Linked DNA regions of Homo sapiens: region 1 is linked to region 2. The links are contacts of gene promoters, found by promoter capture Hi-C in human tissues and cell types (Jung and others, 2019). All regions are on one chromosome and are shown on one strand. Each heading gives the region's core, a stretch centred on a gene start or on the middle of the fragment in contact. The rest is flanking DNA. Distances are from core to core; before and after follow the strand shown. Region 1 has its middle 36 kb from the start of KCNE2. Region 2 holds the start of MRPS6 (mitochondrial ribosomal protein S6).

Evidence for each region. Contacts are between HindIII fragments. The study calls those that stand out against the background at their distance.
Region 1: a fragment that was not itself captured here is called in contact with the fragment with the promoter of MRPS6 in region 2 in 6 of the 25 tissues and cell types used here (IMR-90 fibroblasts, heart left ventricle, lymphoblastoid cells and 3 more).

Annotation. Positions count from the first base shown.
Region 1 is chr21:34,325,230-34,331,346 of GRCh38, forward strand. No RefSeq gene overlaps it. Among named protein-coding and RNA genes, the nearest start is that of KCNE2, 36 kb to the right of the region's middle. The HindIII fragment of the contact is 4,133 bases long and covers 2,603-6,117 here.
Region 2 is chr21:34,070,932-34,077,742 of GRCh38, forward strand. MRPS6 (mitochondrial ribosomal protein S6) reads left to right here and starts at 2,647. Exons shown (of 3, transcript NM_032476.4): 1 at 2,647-2,814. The coding sequence starts at 2,770. It overlaps SLC5A3 (solute carrier family 5 member 3), which reads left to right and starts at 2,647. Exons shown (of 2, transcript NM_006933.7): 1 at 2,647-2,814. RefSeq lists silencers at 2,095-2,614, 2,905-3,304 and an enhancer at 2,558-3,508. The HindIII fragment of the contact is 15,607 bases long and covers 1-6,811 here.

The sequences.
Region 1 (6,117 bases), core at 3,419-5,918, 260 kb after region 2:
AAGGGGTTTTGCCACGTTGGCCAGGCTGGTCTTGAACATTTACTGAAACATTTTTGAAGGATTCATTGGCATCAGAATATAAAAAGGGGCGTGTGCAAAATGCCCTATATAAAAATATATATTTAAAACCTTGATTACAGACATAGTTCACATTCATTGCAGAAAACATAGAGAAGCACAAAGAACAAAATTAAAATGACCTCTAACCTCAACACCTAGAGGACAGCATTGTTAACACTTAGGCCACATCCTTTCCTTTATATTTATTCATATAAATGGAACAAATGATGTTCCAAAGATCAGATCTCATTGTAACCCCTGCCCTGCATCATCATAGTGTACACATTTACCCATGTCATTAAATAGTCATCTACAGTATAATTTTATGCATAGTATTCTGTTGTATGAATGTGTCATAATTTTGTAATTATCTCCTATTGTTGGACATTTAGGTTGTCTCCAGTTTTCCCTTACTGTCTACAGCATAGCAATAAACATCCACCCTTGTCATGTTTTCATATGTCCATGATTATTCATATGTTTTCATATATCCATGATGATTTCCTAGCTCAAGCTTGTCCAATCCATGGCCCGCAGGCCATATGCAGCCCAGGATGGCTTTGAATGCAGCCCAACACAAATTTGTAAACTTTCTTAAAACATTATGAGGTTTTTAATTTTATTTTTTATTTTTTTAGCTCATCAGTTATCATTAGTGTTAGTGTATCTTATGCGTGGTCCAGAACAATTCTTCTTCCAATGTGGCCCAGGGAAGCCCAAAGATCGGACACCCCTGTCCTAGATAAATGTCTAGAAAGGGGTTTGCTGAGTCAGAGGTATGATATCATCAAGGCTTTTGATACTTATTGCCAAATTTTCCTCCAGAATCACATTCCCCAGGCAGTGCATAGGAATTTTCATTTTACCAAACCCACACCAACTGGAAAACATTTCTTTATGGTCTGGGAATCAATGGTTATAGTACCTTGGACTCAACAATAATACACCAACAGACAGCTCCCAAGCACTGAAGATGGGAGAGCAGAATAAGTCTCTGAGAATGCAGAATGGCTCCTTTACGAAAGAGAAGACCGAGGGAAGTAAGTGATTTTTCCAATGTTATACAGACAGTCAATGGGTGTCTGTTTGACATTCGACCTGGGTGTATTCATTGGCCTGATCAACACAATGACCAAATCTGGTCACAGTGCAGGATCAGTTAATGACTGTCCTAGGCTTACTTGACCTCCCTTTGCACCTTCCACTTTAAAGCATTGCATTTAGGCAGCTTCCCATACTGGTCTTGATGGATCATGATGACTAGAAGTTCTCTAGGACCATGAAACTGGGCTGAATCCTCTTCATCGATGCTTATAAATGTATGTTCTGTGTCTGGTCACATTTGCTGATCATGAGCCTGTATCAGGCTCGAAAAAGGGCTAAATGGTCTGTGAGCAAGAGTGGCAGATTCCCTGAAAAAAAAGTGCATGCCCCCATATCTCCTCAAGTTCAAGATGCATGACAAGTTGCAGACAGAGGCAGCTGGTAGAGTCTAGAGAAGCATTGACTGTTAGTATTTATGGCCTCTGTCCCTTGAAAGCCCACTGCCTCATTTCTCACGACATAGACACTGTGGCTCATCCCTGGTCCTGTGGCATTTGGCATCCCAGACCGCCACCCATGCTTCAGGAGTTTCTTTCCTCCTCTGACTTCTGTGACATCCATATCCCTCTCCTGGCTTTTGTCTTACCTTCTTATGTCTGTTTCAATGTCTCTACTTTTTCCTTTTAGTCTTAAATATGTGGCACAAATCTCAGGTCATGAACTCAGAAATGTTCATTATTTTAATTTTTAAAATAACCAATTTTACATTCTGTTACAAGCTCTTACTGTGCTACATGGTGAAAACTAAAATGTTGGTGAACCCAGAGTCATCTCAGATTCTTCCTCCCTGCCCTGTTCTCCCTTCCCCTGGAATGCTGATGATTTCTGGGGGTTGGGGAGCAGGAGGCTGGCACCAGGTTACCATTCATTGTCTTCCATGCACCCTGGTGCACCCTGAGGCTTCTGTCATTCTTGTCAGGTCCCTGTCCTCAGCAATGTATGTCAACGCAGCATCCTCCCGGGGCCCTGAAAGCTTCTAAGAGCTGGCACGCTCTCTATTGCTTCTGTGCAACTTTGGGCACCTGGGAGACATCTGGCTACTCTCAGCACTGATGTGCATGCAGGGAAGTTGAAACATTATTGAATTGTCCTCCTGGACATGTAACCCCCAGTTTTTGCTTCTCTAGTACTCATGGCTGGCATAGAGCGTAGAGACACCCTCCAAGGCTTGAGCCCTTTCAGGAATCCTCAGAAGTAGTTTTTCCTAAGAAAGATTCCCCACACTCTTCCGGCACTTCTGTCCTTCCTATTGCTGCTCTCCACCCTCCCCTTTGTACATCTCCATATCACCCCAACCTTGGCTGTATCAGATAGAAAAGTCCTAACTTTGCAATGCCCTCATTTATAGAATGGGAGAAGTTGGTGAGCAGAAAGGAATGTCTAGAATTAATGTCTAGAATTTAAAATACTACTTTTAATACTTAATATTATTTTGATGTGACTCATGAATCTATCCTCAACCGGTGACACTCTGAAATTCCAAGAGTGTCTTCACTCTGCTCTGGTCTCCCCACATCACCTCTGTAGGGTTCTATTCTCAGCAGTATCCCTAATAGATGGTGGCTCACACATGACATAGCCAGAACAGAAATCAATGTCTACCTCTCTTATTATGTGGAATAAGAATACATCCTCCACCTCCACCCTCTTGACTCCCTAAGGTCTACCCTGCCACTCTGCCACTGTCACTCAGTAATGGCTTCCTTCTCAAGTCCTGTGGCACTTACTGTCATGCGTGCACATCTCACTAAGGACAAGTTGCTCAGAATTGTAGTTCTGTGAGATATTGCGTAGGCTGTGACCTGCTAAGGGGCAGAGACCTTGTTTCCTTCACTGCTGTGTCCCCATGGCCTGTTGTAGCATTGGACACAGAGTAGGAATGCATCAAACTTTTAAAAACAAGCTTTTTAAAACATTGATGAATTCTGTTAACAGGGTTGAAGGCTCCTCAAAAGACGGGCTTGTGTCATACACGAGTCCTTAATATGTGTCTAATATTGAGCCTGGAGATAATATGTGTCTAATATTGAGCCTGGAGAAATGGAAAATGGAAAAGAAGTGAAGACTGTTTCAGGGGGCGTGCTTGTCTCCCAAAGACTTAACAGCCTTGGGATTCAAGGTATAAACACCCCAAATAACAAACAGCAAAAACTTGCTTTTGCAGCAGGAACCCCCCAAAAGGGTCTAAGCAGCTAAAGAATTGAGAGATGAGAAATCCCCACAGGGAACAATGAAATCTTCACAGACATGATGATGCTTGGGTTGGACCCTATGTCATTAGGTCCATAGTAACATCAACACACCCTTGTGGACATCCAAGGGCTTTGACCAATACTCATACTATGTCTACTTAATTTAATGCATAACTTATTAATCCCATAAGCCTATTAAATATTGTTCTAAAAATTTAAACACACCCAACTAATAAAACTTATGAATTTACAAATTTAAAAATTCCTCAGTATTTAAACATTAATTACAAACTTCTTTAATAAAATTTTTCTAATCACTCAATTCAACTCACAAGTCTAATATATTGGATTCATTTACATGCTTCAAACCATTTGGATATTATCACAATGATAATGAAACTTCATTACAGTTACATGTAAAACAATTATAAAGTTACTAGTATTTGGTCCTGATTTTTTTCATTATATTTTTACTAATTTTTATGCTTTTCTCATCCTGAACTTGCAGTGACTATATAAGACAAAAATTTCTATACCTTCCTAGGTGTATTAGTCTGTTCTTGCATTGTCATAAAGAACTACCTAAGACTGGGTAATTTATAAAGAAAAGACGTTTAATTGGCTCACATTTCTGCAGGCTGTACAGGAAGCATGGCTGGGAGGCCTCAGGATACTTACAATCATGGTAGAAGGTGAAGGGGAAGCAGGCACATCTTACATGGCTGGCGCAGGAGGAAGAGGGCAAAGGGGGTGGTGCCACACACTTTTAAACAACCAGATCTTGTGAGAACTCACTCATTATCACAAGAACAGCAAGGGGGAACTCCACTCCCATGATCCCATCACCTCCCACCAGGCCCCTCCTCCAATATCAGGGATTACAATTTGACATGAGATTTGGGTGGGAACACAAATCCAAACTGTATCACTAGGGTTATGATAATTTATCAGACCCAAAGTAAAAGCATGATCTCAGCCTAGTCAAGGAAGCAAGCTCTAGGTTTTATATCAATTGGCTCTTCTTAGGATGTAGGGTGTACTGGCTACAACATCCAAGGAAATTTAACTCTGAACTTCTCAGCTGGGATCCTTTTCACAGTTGAATTTTGATTTCTATGCTTGCCGCATATCTTCTCTCTACCCTCCTACATCTGCTTGGTGCCCCTGTTCTCTGCCCTGGGAGCCTGCCCTGTGTAGGTGCATGTATGGGATCATGGAGACTCTGCCTTCTGGTTGGGTTCAGCTAGTGGGGTGCCCAACGTGAGATCAGAGGCAGGCAGGAGGTGTCAAGGGCTGGTCCCTTCCCGCAAAGTGGTTTAGGCCAGCTGTGTCCCTCACTGCTCCTCTCAAGGTGGCCTGCTGTGCGTGACCCTCCCATACCATGTTTGGGTATTTCACATTCCTTGTCTCTTCTGTATGGATTCATAACAGCGCCAACACTACTAACCCTGGTATCCTGCACCACCCCAGGAGGCTTCGCTACACTCCCTCCTATTTTTGTAATTATTCCATCATTGAGTGATCTCGTTTTGCCATGCCACATGTTTCCTATTGGGATCCTGATGGTGGTGAGGGGTTTAGGAGAGGCAGAGAGGTGCTCGAGTGCTCTGGACGCCCAAGGAGTTTAACTCTGACTGGCCAGCAGAGGGCAGGGACAGGAAGGGTGTCTCCATGCAAGCGTGCCGATTTTACAAGATGGCGTCCAGTTTGGTCAAAACAGCCCAGAAGGCTTGCCTCAGGAACAGGCCTGCTGCGGACACCCCCAGGAGTGAGGGTACAGGAGACCATGGAAAGGCATCTAAGATGACAAGCTTGGCTGGGGGAACAAGACAATCCTCAAGGTGAGAATTACAACTTCCAGCATTATTGTAGACATAGCATAAAAAACATTCATCAAACCCACTGCCAAAGGAATTGTCCTTAAATACAAGTCCGTAAACATCAAGCAGTTGCGGCAGCCTCTGCTGCTCAGCAGAGCCTGGTTCTTCGTTTCTTAAATCGGCATCATCATTACTATTGTTGCCCAACTTCAAATGTACTGGCTTAGGTGAGTGGGTGATTTGCCGAGATCACGTCTTCATGGACTAACTGGAGAGCGAAGGCAATTATGCAGATAATTCACCCAAGAGCCTCACTTTGCTGAAGTTCGGTAATTACCTGAAGAGCTTGTTTTTCAGTGTCTCCAATGGCACACTCAGACAAAAACATTTCTGTTTTCTGGATGATGGCCTCGCTTCTTTGGCTGTGTGACTTTCGCCCCAGTGGAAAAGTGATATTCATCATATTATGGTCTGTGAGCCTGTGAAATCAATAAACAAGGCGTCGTGATCTGGGCTGGTAACAGCTCCAACTGTGCACGGCAAAACCCCCAGAGCTGTTCATTCTCCCACCACGCAATTCCCCTCTCATTCTGTAGGCCTGAGGCCAGGGACCCAGCCTCTCTTTTGTTGCATTTCTGAGATGATGGTCTCCATTGCAAAGGTAAGTCTTTCACTGAGCTGATTTAAACAGCATAGGAACCCCCACTGCATATCTAATGAATTAAAACCTTGAGTTCAGTGTTGGTGAGAGGTGACTGGCCACTTTGCGAAAACCAGCTCATGAGGCTGTTCCTTGGGCTCCTCAGTGTGGCCAGCACATGTGGGCAGCTGCCTGGGGGATATGATTTGGAGGACGCAAGGAAGGACCCTTGGCCTTCCACAGTGCCTGTGATTCCACTGTTAGAGATATACTTCTTTGGCTCTTAAACTAGTGATTTCCA
Region 2 (6,811 bases), core at 1,397-3,896:
AAGATGCCAGGTCTTCACTCATCCCTGGGCATTAAGGGAAAACTAAAGAGCTTCCAAGAGGAAATGCTCTGAGTTGAAGTCAGCTCATTGCGCCGCCTCAGTGTTTGACTTGGCATATTACTACGGGGTCTTTATTTTCTCATTACTAAACTGGGTCATGTAATTGACAAGACAGGGGACAGTCGGGGTGGGACCATTCTAGAAAATCTGTAACTGACTTTTTTTTTTTTAATGGAGTCTCGCTCTGTCGTCCAGGCTGGAGTGCAGTGGCGCGATTTCGGCTCACTGCAACCTCCGCCTCCTGGGTTCAAGCGATTCTTCTGCCTCAGCCTCCCGAGTAGCCGGGACTACAGGCAAGTGCCACCGCACCCAGCTGATTTTTGTATTTTTATTAGAGACAGGATTTCACGATGTTGCCCAGGCTGGTCTCAAACTCCTGACCTTAGGTGATCCACCCGCCTCAGCCTCCCAAAGTATTGGGATTACGGGCGTGGGCCACTGCACCCAGCCTGTAACTCACTTCTGAAGGTCCAGAAATTCCTTGTTTCCTTCTGTTATTTATAGTACGCTACTTATTTAAACCAAACATGAAGTTAATTGACACTTAGCCAGGCAATTTGGATTACCTGTGTGGCTTCACACAGGTATGGGTTGTAGACAAGTCTAAAAATAGAAAATGTTAAAATCCAGCTATCTCAGAAAAACTTGGGTTCATCTCCATCTCCTACCTCCCATATGTCACAAATAGACGCATGGGATGTGAAATGGTAACCTCTGGGTAAGGTGACAAAGGTACTCTAATCTTGGCTTACGTGGACTACACGGTTAATCCACTGAATAACAATCAGCATCTTCATCTGTGTGGTAGGAGAACCGGAGGTCAGAAGGGTAGAGGGGCGGCTAAAAGTACTTTGTTTCTATTACTGTATGACCTTGGACTAGTTACAAAACTTTTTGTGCCTACATTTCCTAATCCCTAATATGGGGTTAACAGTGCTTGCCTCTGTTTAAAAAAATTACTCAGTGATGCTTACTAAAGCATGGTAAGAAAGACTTTATTCAGGACCAACGCGATGGGTACAGGGATCAGGGAAACCCGGGGAGAGAGAGTGGGCTCCAATTCTGAATGCAGCGTCGGCAAGTAGAAATTTATGGCCATGTAAAATCACTAAGAGTAACCATCGGGGGAAGAGGGATTCTGGCTCAACCGATCTAAAGGATTCTTGTAGAACTCAGGCCAGGGTGAAAAGACATGACTGGGGGATAGAGGAAGATGAGGAACCTGATCTGCTATGAGGGGATGGGGGTTCTGTGCTAGAACTGGATTTTACAAGGAAGTGCACAGATGGGCCTAGCATGAGATTCAGAAGCCTGACTAAAGTTTGGCCAAGCAAAGAATCTTTGTCACCTCAGGGCTGTTGTGAGAATTTTAGGAGACACATCCACCAGCCTTGGCATGGGGCCTGATGCAGAGTAAGTGTTCACTAAACTTTACCTATTAACGTTAAAGCACTTTAAGTTGACAAACACTCCACGTACAGAGCTTTTAATGGGGCAAACAAGGGGCAGAGGCCTCAGCTGCAGGGTACTCAACCTCTAAGGAAGGGCGCTGGAGAAAACTGCACTTGCAGAGCCCCTGGCTGGAGGGCGGAGAACCATGTGGGTGTAAAGGGATGGCAAGGGCAGAACGTATGCCCCTGCCCACCTTAGACAGTTGCTAAAGGGTCTCCCAGGCACTCAGCCTAGCCTTTAAGTGAAAGCGGAGGAAACATTTAAAGAAATGAGATAGAGTTAAGGTGTTCGCCTGCCCTCCGCTGAAACACGTGGGGGCAGGTCAGGGGCACACCACAAATGCCCGTATCGCGCCTGTGTGTACCAGGCACCGTCCTCGGAGGTTAACGTGCAGTAACTCACTCGGGTCCCCACTTTCGGCACAGGCAGCAGGCCCAAGGTCACGCAGTGCCAAGGGACTGAGTCAGACCCGAGCCCGCGCGCCGCGGCCCACGGCCTGTGCCAGCGCGCTCCTCGCCGGGTAGGGGGCCTGGTCAGCCGCGTCAGACCTGAGAGTTGTGGCTGGGGGCGAGAGCTGCACCCCCCTACCGACCCCGGGCGGGAATGTTCCAGAACCCCTGCGAGCAGCCGTTGGCCGCACAGCCCCCGGGCCGGCCGCGACCCCGCCTTGCGCCGCGAAGGTCCCTAGCTCCGGGGAGTCGCGGGCGAGGGGCACGCGCACGGACGAGACCGCACCGCAGCGCACGCGCACTGGCGGGCACTCACTCGCCCGCCGCCCGGGAGGAGAAGGAAGGCATGGAAAGTTCCAGCCGGTTCGAGAGCTAGGTAGCAGGCATGGCAGGAGGCGGGGTAGGGGCAGGCAGGGTCGCGAGGGGGCGTGCGGCCGCCGCGAGCCGCTCTGGGCCGCGTCTGCAGCACCGCCCCTAGCCGCGGCCGGCGGGCTGGGCTGGGGTCGGGGCGGGGGCGGTGCGGCGGGTGCGGGGCTGCGGAGGGGGCGTGGCGGCCGCCCGCGGGCGGAGAGGGGGCGGGGCGGCGGCAAGGCGCGCGGGCGGGGCGGGGCGCGCCGAGGGGGCGTGGCGCGGCGTCTGCGCAGCTGCCAGCGCCTTTAAGCCCGGGCTCGCGCTCTCGGACCGTGCTTTCGCCGCCTGGGAGCCGTCCGGCGCAGCAGTTTCTAGGTCCCCACTGTCCCCGCCGTCCCGCCCCTTCGCGTCCCGGGAACCGGCTGGCTTCCGAGCCGCACTCGCCGATCCTCCAGGCATGCCCCGCTACGAGCTGGCTTTAATCCTGAAAGCCATGCAGCGGGTAAGTGACCTTCCCTCAGAGCCGGTCTTCCCGCGCGGGCGCCCCCGCTGCCGCTAGGCCGCCGTCCCCCGCGCGCCCTGGCCGCGGGACCCCGGGCCTTCCTGCACTCCTCGGAGGAGGCCGGGGCGGCGGGCGGGCGGCGGGCGTCCGCGGGAAGGGGGCGCGCGTGGGCCGGCCGGGCCCGGCCGCGTGCGCGCGGGAGGCGGGGGTGTGCCTGCGCGTGTGCGCGGTCCGGGAGGGTGTGCCTCGCAAGCGGCCCGCCGGGCGGGGGGCGGGGCGGACCGAGCGGGCCCCGACCCCGATCCCGGCGCCGGCCCGCGGGAGTCCAGTGGAAGGTCCGCGGGAGGACACGCGCGGGCGCCCAGCCCGACTCCGGCCCGTCCCCGCCAGTCGTGAAGCTGCCTCGTCGCCGGCCCCGCCGCCGCCGCCTGGTCCGTCCCGCTCCGCCGCCCGCCGGCTGCCGCCGACCGCCTCCGCTCTAGCGCCCGCCGGCCGCCCGGAACGTCCGCGCCCAATAAAGCGTTCCTCCAAAGCTTGTTTGTGCCGTTGTCTGTATTCCAGTCTCTTGCAATCGCTCTCATGTTAAAAAAAAATCTTTTGACTTTTCTTTTTCTGACTTCAGCGAAAATCCCGCTCCGGGTGCCCTTAGCCCAGTTTCATTCATCCAAGTTGTGGCCTTTCTTGCGCCTCCAGAAGACACTTTCTTCCCCCTGCTTTTGATTGATCTTGAGGTAGGGGATTTCAGGTTTGGAGGGATGCTAAGCGAACCAGCGGCCCCTTTCAGGTGACGGCGTGGCCAAGGACAGGGGCCCGCGGCCCGGAGGCAGCTCACTTCGTCCTCTGTCCTGGGTCATGTACTCCTCAAGTCGTCGCCGAAATCCCCATTCTCCCGTGAATTCGGAATTCGGTAACGTAGTTTGGTGTTATGTTTTTTTTTCTCCACCAGGTGTAATAAAACAAAAATCATTGTACCACGTCCGAACTTTGTAAGCACAGCTTCCTACAGCGCTAGAGGAGTGGACGCATTTTTACGTTTGAAATTAGGCTCCAGGTCAATTGCGAGGAGTATTACCAAGTTTGGTTGAACTTAAGCTCAATTGATAAACTAACAATCACGGAGCGTCGGGAGATTGTTAGGAAGTGTGCTTTGCATATTGTTAACTGGGAAGGGACGCCAGTGCCTCTCTATGAGGTCCAGACAGCCTGGCCAGGCATGCCATTGTGTCCCCCAGCTTGTTCTTCATGGATTTGGAAGAAGTTAAGATAGTATCTGTTCAGCCTCTTGAATATCCCTTTTGGCCCTCCTCCTTGCTTACCAGCATATGTAACTCCGAAAGGATAGGAGCAGTGAAAACAAAGCATTATTAAAAGGGAAGATTTTTAATTAGGTGGAAGTTGTTTAAGCCCTCCCTTCAACTTACGTGTTTTAGGGAATGTGGAACCTGGGAAATTCGTTACTGAAATTCCTTTTGTTTACTTTCCTTGTCTTGGGGAGGTAGCAGGTGACACTGAAAGAGGCAACCTGTAGGCAATAATATTTGCTCATTCTGTAACCCTTTGAAACCTTTGAAATGAAGACTTGCCCTCCCCTTTGTTTTTGCCATAGTTGCCAAGTATCTTGGTTAACATGGCTGCAAGTATTAAGTGTATTTCTTTTACCATTTTTTTTTATGTCCTGTAATAACATAGCCTTTGGATGTGGAGCACCCATTTTTCACTCTAGTTCAGATCAACAGAGCGTAATTTGGTTAAAATAATAAATAACCTTCCTTGAAATCTTCGCATGAGGGAAGGGGGGCAAAAAAAAGAAAAAAAGCCCTAGAAAGTAGATAATAAAGGTGAACTGCCTCTTGGAGAAAGAGGCCCCATGGCAGTAGATAGAAGGTTGTAACAGTGGTGACTTATGTACAATGGCGAAGTTATGTTGAGGAGATCCTTGACCTAAATAAAGTAATATTAAACAATAGCTTCTCAGTTATTTGTTCAAAAACCTATCTGTAGCTTGTAAATGTGGCACAAACACAAAGACTTCCAGGTTTTAGACCAGTTTGCTTGCTTTCAGTTTAGGAAAATAGGATTCTAAAATAGGATGAATGTTTGGGGGGAAACGAATTTAAAAAGTTAACTCTAGGCTTATGAAATGAAAAATGCGACTGTGAGCTTGCACACCGGTAGCAGGCCTTGGAGAAACCACAGTTCTAACCCGAGGCACTTTGTGCTTCTGTTGCAAGAAGGGTATTGAAGCTCCTCAGTTCAAAGTTGCGTATCTTCCACGTTTTTAGATTCTTAAGTGTATACCTCTTTACCCCTTTAATATGATGTATTTTCCTTTCCTCCCCAAATCATTTGTGCATCTTGGAATTGAGGAAAATGCTGTGTTAGGCAACTTTAACAGCGGATATGGAAGTTAAGAAACTATAGTTTTCCAGCCTTTGGACTCCCAGAGCTGCTCTCCTGTTTTTTCTCCGCAGTACTCAGCCTGGAGAGCATTCTTAGTCTGTTTGGAGAATATTAACTCCTCCCTGTCCTCATTACTTTTTTTTTGACCCTAGCTTGACTCCTTTAAATTGAGCTTGCAAAGTTTTAAAATTTAAAATACAGGCCCTGTGTTGGCTGTCACAGTATCTGGATTGTAGCAAAGTCAGTTGCGGGAATGCCCATTGAAAGATTTCAGAGTGTATTATGTAGAGTCAGTCATATTGAACTATACAGTTGTACAATTAGTCACCCAGAAATTCCAATACTATGTTTTTCTCAGTTTGCAAGTAGAAGTTGATTATGAGTATCTACTTTTGTACTTCCAAGTTTGGGCATTTAGGAATGTAGTTAACTAGTGTTTCTAAGAAGAAATTTATTTTCAAGTACCATATAGCTTGATTTTTAAAAAAGTGTGTATATAAAAAAAGTTATTTCTATTTTCTGTTTTAGCGTGAAAAGTAGGTAAAAGTGTGGTTAAATTCTGAAATATGACGGTAAAGTAATGGATGTTGTGAAACTAGGCCTTTAAAGGTGACAAGCAATTTGAAAAACCAGTTGTTTAGACCAGTCTTAGTTCATATTTATAGAAGAGTCTCTGGAATAAAAAGATTTTAAAAGTCCTGTTACACCCATATCAGATAGCATCAAGAGAGTTTTATTCACTTCTGGAAAACACAGTATTCAAAGGCTGTAATGTGAAAGGACATAGCCGCAAAGGAGAGACCAAGGCTGCAGTCCCAGGTAGCCTCATTTCAGTGTGAGGAAGACCTCTGACAATGGAAAAAGAAATGGATTGCCTGTGAGATGGTGAGGTCTATATCCACCTCCACCCTGCCCCCCCTGCAATGAGAACTTTGAGGTAGATGAGGAGAAGGGGTCATGTGTTTGGTGAGTGAGCTCTCTTGTGAGTGGGAAAATGGTTGAAGCCCTTTGGTTTCACTTGATAATTAGATTTTAAAGGTTGGTATTTCAGTTAGGTAAAAGACTGAAGTGCCAATACATGAATGGTAAAGCCGCATACTGTATAATGTAGAGGAGCTTAGGAAAAAAATGAAACTTTGTAGACACTTTTTATGCCTTGGGTATACAGGAAGAAGAAATCTGAGGAAAGAAATCTGTGCAATACATAAGTATTTTGTGGTTACTTTAGGAACGCTAATTACGTCTCGTGCCCTTTTCCCAGAAGGTGTTCACAGTTGGCATAGATTATGAAAGCCCTGGGATAATACTTTTCCTGAAATCTTCTCATTGGCGTTCAGGAATTTTTACATGAAGAATTAAAGGTTAATGGCTTAATAACTAATTCACTTGCTAAATGATTCCATTGCATGTACAATAAGATAGCATTTATATATATATATCTTCATATGTTTTTCTAATAGGAATAAAGAAGATAGCTATTTTGGAAATCTTAAGTTCTTATTAAAACAAACAGTAATTTTTATGTTTAATACTCAACGCAGATTATATTTTACATTTAGATAACTCATTGAAATAGTACTTTGGTAGGGTAAGGAGT